Regions from separate parts of the Homo sapiens genome. Here region 1 is linked to region 2. The links are contacts of gene promoters, found by promoter capture Hi-C in human tissues and cell types (Jung and others, 2019). All regions are on one chromosome and are shown on one strand. Each heading gives the region's core, a stretch centred on a gene start or on the middle of the fragment in contact. The rest is flanking DNA. Distances are from core to core; before and after follow the strand shown. Region 1 overlaps STK39 (serine/threonine kinase 39). Region 2 holds the start of LRP2 (LDL receptor related protein 2).

The links. Contacts are between HindIII fragments. The study calls those that stand out against the background at their distance.
Region 1: a contact is called between a fragment that was not itself captured here and the fragment with the promoter of LRP2 in region 2, in 1 of the 25 tissues and cell types used here (hippocampus).

Annotation. Positions count from the first base shown.
Region 1 is chr2:168,166,575-168,171,878 of GRCh38, reverse strand. It overlaps STK39 (serine/threonine kinase 39), which reads left to right. Exons shown (of 18, transcript NM_013233.3): 3 at 4,472-4,580. Among named protein-coding and RNA genes, the nearest start is that of STK39, 78 kb to the left of the region's middle. The HindIII fragment of the contact is 4,333 bases long and covers 971-5,303 here.
Region 2 is chr2:169,360,207-169,365,208 of GRCh38, reverse strand. LRP2 (LDL receptor related protein 2) reads left to right here and starts at 2,675. Exons shown (of 79, transcript NM_004525.3): 1 at 2,675-2,888. The coding sequence starts at 2,810. RefSeq lists enhancers at 1,557-2,190, 2,191-2,824. The HindIII fragment of the contact is 10,463 bases long and covers 1-5,002 here.

The sequences.
Region 1 (5,304 bases), core at 1,888-4,387, 1.2 Mb after region 2:
TTTGTGTGTGGGGGGGAGGGGGGAGTGGGGGGGGCGTGGAAATGAAAGGCCATATAGCAATATGAGAAAATCTCTTATTATATTTAGTTATGGCAGGGTACAGTGGCTCACAGCTGTAATTTCAGCACTTTGGGAGACCAAGGAGGAGGATTGCTTGAGCCTGGGAGCTCGAGACCAGCCTGGGCAACACAGTGAGACCCTGTCTCTACAAAAAATTTTTAAAAATTAGCTGGATGTGATAGCATGTGCTCATCCCCCCTGCTACTCAGGAGGCTTGAAGTGTGAAGATTGCTCGAGCCAGGAAGGTTAAAGCTTCTGTGAGCTATGATTGCGCCATTGCACTCCAGCCTGGACAACAGAATGAGATTGTCTAAAAAAAAAAAAATTAAGTTTTTTTTTCCCTTTTTTTATTTTCAGTTCTGTTATTTTTTGGGGGAAGGGGAAGTTTTTTCCTCCCAACTCCTCATATTTGTAGGGTAGGATACTTTATTTTGTATTCCTCACCACACCTAGCATGACGCGCGTAATGTCTGGTTTGGCAAATTTTGCAGGGCTGGCATAACAGCAGTGTGTGGGTGTCCTTCTTTGATATGTCTTTCTTGCACATGGCTCCCTGCAGAGGGGTGCTGCTGTGGCTGCCACTTCAGTTCTAGCAGGTGGATAGGGGATCTTCCATGCTACCCCATTTTAAGGTTGGTCTTCCCACTCTTGTGAAATTTCACTTGTGATACATTTCAGATGGAGCTGCATGAACAGCTCTGTCAGCCTCAGAGAAGATTAACTACTGTGCCATAGCTTGGTTTGGCGCTTGTGACATGTCTAAGTCTCATTTCCTCGGTTTCCAAGGGAGCCACTGTGTTCAATTCCTTGACTATATTTTTGGCAAATGTGTTGCCTGCATTTCAGAGTTCTGTAGTTTCTCCCATCTTTGACCTCGTGGGATTTTTGTTTGTTTGTTTGCTTGCGTTTCTTTTTTAAATCTCAATGAAGTTTTTACCCTTTTCTGTCCTTGTGAAATTCACACCACTTTAGTACAACAGTCTCCCTTATTTCCAGCTTTGCTTCTTACCCCTCTCCTCCAGTTAGACTCTCCTCCAGTTAGACTCAGCCAGGCAGTACTGTCGGCCAGACCCACTACTGGGCACTTTTGACACTGTCGGCTTCCTTGCAGTCGTCTGTGTCCCTCCTCTCACATCCCCCAACCTTCCTCTCTGCCTTCTTTCAAAGCTCAGTCTACCACTTTGCCACTCAAAGTCTGGTTTCTGGACCCACAGCATCAGCATCACATGGAAGCCTGCTAGAAATGCAGATTCTCAGGCCGCACTGCAGCCCTTCCGAATGGGAGTCTGCATCTTAGCAAATTGCTGAGGTGATCTGCATGCCCATCCAAATTAGGGAAGCACCGCTTTAACTCACGCTTCTGCCTTGGGTTGTGACCTAATTAAGAGAATAGGATGTTAGAACCCATTCATTCTGTCGAAAGAATCAGCTAAAACATTTTTATATTTTCAAATTGTTCATCTTTAGGCAATAGTTTTGTCATTTTTAGGGATAGGGACAAACAAATATGCTTGGTAATGAATGTCTTTTCCTAACCATATGAATGCGGTTAGGGCATTAGGAGAAGCTTAGATAATTTAACCAATAGATTGTTACCAAGGGAGCTTTCAAATAACACCCATCATTGTTTTGAAAAGAATGGAGGGGATAGTTTTGTGGAAAGATTTCTAGTTTTCAGGTTTTTAACTTTCTTCTATGTGGAAATATTACTTATCCTGGGGATCAGTGATAGCATAGGTCATATCTCAAGACAGAGCTACAGATGTTTCTCCCTAAGGCGAGTTTCATCATGTCCTTAAGCATTAATGCTTGTGGAAAAGCTGCTGTGCAGGACAATGGATGGTGCAGGAGTTGGGGACATGGACCCCCCTAGCCAAGAAGTGAAGAGGGATGGCTCAGCTGCATGGAAGAAGAATGTGAGGTTGAGTGATCAAACTGATGGAAAGCCACTCTTGGGCCCCCTGCCCCTTCTTTTACCTGTCCTTATACTGCTCCTGTGGTTGTGTTGGTGTGGCAGTATCTGTGACCCCTCATCCCCCACTCATTTAAATTCTGGAACCTTTTAATGTCCAGATGGTGTCTCTAAGACTCAGAGTTTTGAAGGAATAGAATTTGCTAAGTTATATCTATAGGTTCTACAGGTTTTCTAAAGGAGTTACACACACACACACACACACACACACACACGCTCACTGCAAAGTCAGAGAACCTGATACTTTGGGTGGGAAGTGATACTGGCCATCTAAATGCAAAGGGCTAAAAAGTGTGTTTTTCTAGACTGACTCAACCTTGCCTTCAATGTAAAAGAATTTCCTTTTGTATGACCATTAGTTGTTTTGTGCATTTTGATAAATTATTTAAAAGTTTGGAGTTACAGCACTAGAAAAGCATTCACTTACATTTAGAGTGCAGCTGCATTTAAGAGACATTGTTCTCGTTTCTTTGAACACTAGGCATCTGTTTAAACTGGACCCTACCTAATGCTACAGACCTTCAGTGTGGGCCATCCCCGCACTGAGCAGATGCTATTGACTTGAAATAGGAGTGGCCAGGGCAGTGTTCCATTTCTCCTTCAGAAGTGTCTTATGGCATCAGAACCTAATACCGGAAACAGATGGAAACTGAACCTCAGGTTTCAGATCTTATTCAAAGGATAAGAGTTGCTGAATTGAAAAGTGTCAGATTTAGAAAACCTGTAATCAGTCAAATGGATGAGGGGAATGATGAAGGAAAATCATTGTTATATACTGAGAAGAAAAAAGAAAAATTAGTAGTTTCTAAGGAGTTTATCTTTGGTTAAAAGCACTTCATTTTTATTATTTTTTAATTTTTTTTTGAGACAGAATCTTGCTTTGTCACTCAGGCTGGAGTCCAGTGGCACGATCTCAGCTCACTGCAACCTCCACTTCCCGGGTTTGAGTGATTCTCGTTCCTCAGCTTCCTCAGTCATTGGGACTACAGGCGCACACCACCACACTCAGCTAATTTTTTTGTAGAGACAATGTTTCTCATGTTGGCTGGGCTGGTCTTGAACTCCTGACCTCGGGTGATCCGCCTGCTGCGGCCTCCCAAAGTGTTGGGATTACATGTATGAGCCACTGCCCCCAGCCAAAAGCACTTTAAATAAACATATATGTTAAGGAACGTATGAGTGTTACATATTACAGAATTTTGGCCAAGTTGTCGGATATATAGGATCTTTTTAGTAGTATGAGGATTAGGCAGTACTGGACAAGCAAAGATAACGTCCAAATTGAGATGTTCTGCTTGGGTAACTTTGAGTTAATGTGAAGCTCATTATTATTGAATATATTCATAGGATGCATAAATGTACCCTTCTTTCATCAATACATAATGGCAAAAATGAGGTTTCTTTGATCATTTAGGTTATTCTTGTCCTTTTTATGGCACCTTGAAAGTGAGTTACACTGGTCTGGTACCTTTGATTGAGAGTTACATTAGACTGAAGCTTTTATGGGAGTCATCCGACAATAACTTAAAACGAGAAACTGAAATCAATATGAAACTGAATATTCCAGAAAAATGTGATTTATTGAAAGTTTCCTTTTGTTTTATTTCTCAGCTTTGTTGTTTTATGTCTTTATATAAAACAACAAAGAATAAAATATATTTTATTCTCTACAGCAGTGTTTCCAAGATGTGACCCACAAAGCATTCTTTTCCTGCTCTGTTAATATGGATTAAACTATGGCAGTTTATCTACTGCAGGACTTCTCAGAGCCTTTGACAGTACTAATATTCCCTGTGATTCTTTTAGAATGAGATATATTATCTGATCTTTCCCAAGCTTATTTTACTTCGCCTGCCGCTCTCTTCCCTGCCACCTCCTTTTTTTAGTTAATGGAATATCTACTGTGGCAGATAGCTGGGAAATAATACTGTAGCATTTTCAAATGTATTTTCTCATTTACCATCACAGCAGTCCTGAGAAACAGGGACAGTTTTGTTGTCGTTTTTTGGATGAGGGAGGAGCTAAGATCCACCAGAGTTCAGGCTGGCACCAGGATGCAGGTGTCCTAGTAACTCACCCAGTCTTTTATCTCCCTGTCAAGCCTTCGGTTCAGGTATGAGGCTCTTAGTCCTATGTGGCAGGGCTCTCTGCTGGCAGAGTTGGGGGGTCATCTGGGTGATAACAGTGATCTGAAGTTCCTGTGTCTGGTAGCTGGTCCACAGGGCTCTGTGGTCTCCTGTAGAGAACTTTCTAATCTGAGTTGATAATGTGGGTGAGAGAATTGGTCCTTATATACCTTCTTTGAAGTAATGGCTTAGGCAGCCCCTCAGGTAGGCTTTCGAGTAGGAAAGTTACCCAGGTACTCAACTGTGATTCACTTGTGTTTTGCTTGCCAATTTTCACCCCATGGTACTATGTCATGTTTTGCTCTTTTTATAGAAAGAAATTCAAGCCATGAGTCAGTGCAGCCATCCCAACGTAGTGACCTATTACACCTCTTTTGTGGTCAAAGATGAACTTTGGCTGGTCATGAAATTACTAAGTGGAGGTAAGTGGATTTTGTTGTTGTTATTTATTTGCTTGTTTTCTCTCCTTTTGTTGGAACCAGCATATTGGAGAAGACTTTAGATTGAATCCTTTCTCTCCTGTGTTTGAAAGTTTGTTTGGTTTCTCATTGCCTAGAGGATAACGTCCAGATTGCTTCACATTGACCTTCAAAGCTTTTCATAATTTTGCTTAACTTCCGAGAATGTGTATGTCCTCTTCTCCAGGTATGAAATGCCCGACCTTCTAGGCTGAGAGGCAGCCCCCGGAATGTATTATGTGCTCTCATGCCTTTGCCCCTGACCTGTCCTCTTTCTCAGCCTTGCATCTCTCCTTTGTTTTCCATGTGCTCAGGCCTAAAAGGTCACATCCTCTCCACAGTCACCGCTTACTCTTCAAAAAAGTTAGCCAGTCCTTTCTCCTTGAGTCCTTTCTTTTTAACATTGTTCAGGTCCTTAACACATTGCAGTTTGCTGAATTATCTCAGTGCCATTTATCAGAATGTTCTGTGATGATGGAAATGTTCTGAGGTGCTGCTATCTACTTTTTACTAATCCCATGTGACTCTTAAGCACTTGACATGTGGCTAGTGTGACTGAGGGACTGAGTATTCAATTTTAATTAACTTACATTTAAATCACCTTGTATGGCTCCAGTATTGGACAGTGCATATTTAGGTTGTGGACTTTGTGAAGATTGTCTAATGCACTTTGAATTCATTGAACTTG
Region 2 (5,002 bases), core at 1,426-3,925:
AGAAATTATCTTTTTGCATTATAGAGAAACACTGCTGGCTTAAATTGCAACTGAATTAACCTGGGCTTTCCCAGATACTGGTCCATAGATTTAATCACCCCAATCTAGTAACAGGCATTCTCAGGTATGGATGCCAGAGATAAACACGTGCATGGTGCAGGCTGTTTTCAAACGTCACGAATTGGGGATTGCATTGAGAAAATGGGTTATTCTAGTGGAAAAGTGTGTGGGTCCACATACAGAGTGCTGCGAATGATGGGCTGTGCTCCGCTAGGTGGTCCCCCATCCCTACCCCTTTTCTGCTCTCCTACCTCCCGTTCTCCCTCCCTCCTTTCCCCTCTTCTGCGTTATTCTGGGATTAACGGCGGGGTCGGCCCCATACACAAACGCAGCTGGCTAGTACGGTCAGCCTGAGCCCTGCTGTGCAACCACGTCAGGAATTCCAGTAAGTTGGCAACACTGGAGCACAAAGACAACAACAATTGAGGAACTCTTCAGTACAGAAAGGAATGTTTGGAGCCCTGGCTGCTACAGTGAAAGGGCACACACACACACACACACACACACACACACACACACACACACACACACACACACACACGCTCGCGCCTGCGCGCCCACGGGCGCACTGGAGGGAGCCCAGCCCCTCCCGCACTCGCGCTCCTCCCTCCCGCCAGCCGGCGGCCGCTCTTTGTAAGTCGGAGGTGCGGGGACGCTCATTGACTATGCAGCGCGGCCCCAGCGGGCGTCGGACCGGCTTGACCCCGGCGCGGTCTCGTACCATCGCCTCGGCCGCCCGGAACCGGCATAAATCACCCGCGAAGACTGGAGTGCAGCATCAAGCCCCCTCGCCGCCTCCCTCCTCCCGCTCCGGTCCGGTCGCCCCCTCCCTCCCCAGACCCCGGCTCTCCTGTCCCCAGTCCTGTCTCCTCCGCGCCGCACAGCGCCCAACACTATGCAGGGAGGCAAATAGAGAACCAGTGACTTTGGCCAGAGCACAGACCTCTGGATTTCCCAATCCAGGAATCTCTCCCACTCTTTCCCACAACGCTGCCCGCTCCACCTTTTTTTCTTTAAGCCTAAGTTTTCTCTTTTTGTGTCTATTTATCTCTTTTTGTCTTTCCAAAGTAACACCTATCCTTTCCCTCCCCTAGCCCCCACACCTAAAGCTGCGCCTACCACTGCAGCCCACGGAAGCTACGCGATCCGGACTGTTGGGGTCAGCAGAGCCCCGGACGACCTGTGCCCCGGGGAAAGGGGCTGGCAGTAATTGGCAGGTTCTCGCCCCTGGGGAAGGGAGGCAGCGGGAACCTGTCCAGCGACCACGTGCGTTCAGGGCTGTCTCCTCCATGCGTCACGGCCCCTTCGCTGGAGGGAAAGGGCTCCTGACTTCTTGGACCAGGATCCGGAGCCTGGGACTAGCTGCCGCGCTGGTTCAGGGGCTGGAGCTGGAGATGATGGGATGGCCTCAGGCCCGCAAACAGCCCCTTCTCACACAGGGTTCCCACCACCGGGAAATAACTTGCATCAACCCTCCTTTTTTACCCCTCCCTGTGGGCTCTGATGTCACGTACAGGCTGAGGACGTGCGCTGAGGGCGGGTGTAAGGCCACTTGTGCTTTTGGCTTCCGGGCCCCTTGCCAGCCTGTCCAAAGCGGCCCCAAAGAAGGGAGGCTAGGGGTTCCCTGAACCTCTCGTGTTTCTCCTTCTTATAAAAGGGTACCGGAACCATGGAGAAGACGTTCGCTCTTTTTCAATTTTGCTTCAAAATGAGCAGACTTGTAAGAAGCACGATCTGGCCATGACACCTGTAGATGTGGTGCTGAATAATTGCTAAATAAGGATCCAACCTCCCCAACAAAGATCCACCTCCCTCTCTAATTTGTAAAAACACAAAGCACCCCATCTCAGCAGCCTGTATCCTATCAGGGGAAACCAAGATATCCGAAGGAGCCTAGAGAGATCAGGCCAGGAATGAAGGTCACAGATCTCCATCCAGCAGGCTCTTTACTCCTTCCCTTCCCTACCCCCGCCTCTTTCCCTTTCTTTCTCTTTCCTTCATTTTTACTTGTCTGGTTGTGCTTTCCTTTTCCATTTCTTATTTTTTCTTTCTCTTCTCTATTCTTGACTTTCCTCCTCGTCCATTTCTTTCCATTGCTCATTTAGTAAAACTGCGTCCGTGCAGATTTCCCCGTGAGCCGCCTCGCCGGCTTCTGTGCGGGGCAAACCCTGCGGAGAGGCGAGGGCAGCGCGTGTGCACGTGTGAGTGTGCCTGTGAGAGTGTGCGCACAGGAGTGTGCTCTTGTATGCACGCGTAAAGGGGACTGTGTATGTCGGCGTTGAAGTGTGACTGTGGAATGTGCGCGCGTGTGTGACTGGCGTGTATGAGTGAATCTGTGTCAGTTGGTGTGACACTTAGGAGTGCATGCGCCTGTATGAGTGCGTGTGTGAGTGTGCACACGCCTGTGTGAGTGTCCCTGTGTGAGCACGCGTGTGTTCGAGTGCCCACTCCTCCCCGCGCTGCAAAGTGCAGGGGGCGGGCCGGGCGGCAGGGGGCCTGCCCGCTGGATTCCCGCATGCTTGTTCCGGGGCGGTCGGGTCTAAAGGGCTTTATGCACTGTCTGGAGGGTGGGGACTGGCGCGGGTAGAAAACGGGATGCCTCGGGCGTGGGGGCAGGCTTTTGGCCACTAGGAGCTGGCGGAGGTGCAGACCTAAAGGAGCGTTCGCTAGCAGAGGCGCTGCCGGTGCGGTGTGCTACGCGCGCCCACCTCCCGGGGAAGGAACGGCGAGGCCGGGGACCGTCGCGGAGATGGATCGCGGGCCGGCAGCAGTGGCGTGCACGCTGCTCCTGGCTCTCGTCGCCTGCCTAGCGCCGGCCAGTGGCCAAGGTAAGAGCCCAGCCAGAGCCTCTCGTGGAGCCCCCACTTCCCCGGCTGTGGCAGGGTCGGGTCCGCGGGAGGCCGGAGGGGAGAGCGTCCGGGCAGGGGCTAGGGCCGGGCGGCGGCGCGGGAGCTGCTCCCGGTGGGGCGCTCAGGTTGCTTCGCGAAGCCGGAGCGGGAGCGCCCCTCTTCGCTCGCCAGGAACTGAGCGGCAGCAAACTTGAGAAAGCAGCCCCGCCAGTTTCGGTGACAGCGCACCCCACGGAGACCCTGTCTTTGTTCCCACGGGCGTTGGTCCGATGCTCCTGGAAAGCACTTTGCGGGAGAACGAGGTTCTCCGCCGTTTGCAGCCTGCCCTCCCTAGCGGAGTTCTCTGCTGGGCGGCGCGGTCCCGGGCTCTGCTCAGAGCGCAGCTTTCCACCTGCAGCGCCCCTCCCGGGATCCCTTCGCGCGCCCAGGGCCGCGGGCCAGAGCACTCCTCCCACCACCGGCGAAACTTGGTCCCGCGGTGACCCCCAGAGACCGCTCTCACCATACAGATCATTTACGAGCCAAGATAAGGCCGGGAGGTGGGATTGGCCGAGAGAGTGGCTGAGGGACTGGAGTCTTTTCTTGAAGTTTTCCTTTCCAGCTGGGAGCTGGGGGCTTTTGTGTTGATGAATGGGGCCCGTCTGCATGGCCAGAGTTTTGGGGATCGAATGCAGAAAGTTTCTAGTATGAAGTGCTTTAAACTTCTCTCAAGTTGTCCGATAGTTTATGTTTTAACAGAAACAGAGAAGAGGGAAAGAGAGGGAGAAAGAAGCGGAGAGAATAAAACTAGTAAGAAGGGAAGAGGAGAGAGCGTAAGAGAAGCAAATAGGAATAAGGAAAGAAGGAGGGAAGAGAACGACTGGGGCGGGAGAAGAGAGAGAGAGAGGAGAGAGAGGAGAGAGACAGAGAGAGAGAGAGAGAGGGAGAGAGAGAGAGAGAGAGAGAGAGACAGAGAGAGACAGAGAGAGACAGAGAGAGACAGAGAGACAGAGACCCGGCCGAGGATGAATGGGAAGGGCGAGGAGGAGGCTGGAACCGGCGAGCTCTCCCCCTGGCTTTGCGTTGCTAGGTAGCAGCCGGGAGCTGCGTGTGACCGACCACCAGACAGACAGAGGGGACGCTGCTGCCACCGCAGGGACTAATCTGTCTGTGGGGATGGGAGAGTCCCCCCTTTCCCCTCCTGCTCCTTCCCTCCCGTCGGACAACTTAATTGCCCTACAATGAAAATGAAACCCCTATTGTTGTAGGATTAGCCAAAGCAATAAATTGATTTTCCTGGATCACATATTGGGGTTGATGGGTGGGGAATGTGGAAGCCCCCATTTACGGAGGAGTGAGGGGAGGGCTTGTGGATGGGCCGTGGCATGTATTCAAATGGTTAATCTGCTTTCTTTCCTCAATTCTTAGCGTAAGCTCCTTAGAGGGAATCAAGTAAGTAATTATACAGCAACTCCTAGCAGCACCCATTTCAGACTTCCTGGGAAGAAGTTTGGAAACCCTAACAAACCCCACAGGTCTTGCAAAAGTCTTCAGAAAGGCAGGAGAGGCAAGGAGAGATCATTAATAACCTTCCTTTGAACACCCTTTCTCAGTGTTGGTAACGCAGAAAGAGGGTTTATTATTATTGTGCAGAGTTTGCACAATGCTTAGGGTTGTATCTCATGTCCTAAATATAGCTATAGGATTTACTATATGTTCCTGTCAGTGCCTGGCAAAAGGAAATCTTACCTTGATTCATCTATGTCCTTGTACAACCAAAACAGATATTCTTTTTCCTGGGTTGATGATTTAGTCACTAAATAACCAATACCTACTCTTCTTGATAGTTTTTTGCACCCATCCATCTTCCATTCTATGATAATAATATATAATAATAATGTGTATAGTAATAGTAACCTAGCATACACATATATGTGGCAGGCTTTGTTCTAAGCACTTTATACTTATTGACTCAATTAATCTTCATAATATCCCTTGGAAGTAAGTACTCTTATTATCACTGTTTTACAGATGAGAAAGTGGAGGCACAGAACAATTCAGTAATTTGTCTCAGTTCATACTGCTAGAAAATGGCAAACTCAAGGGATTCTGAA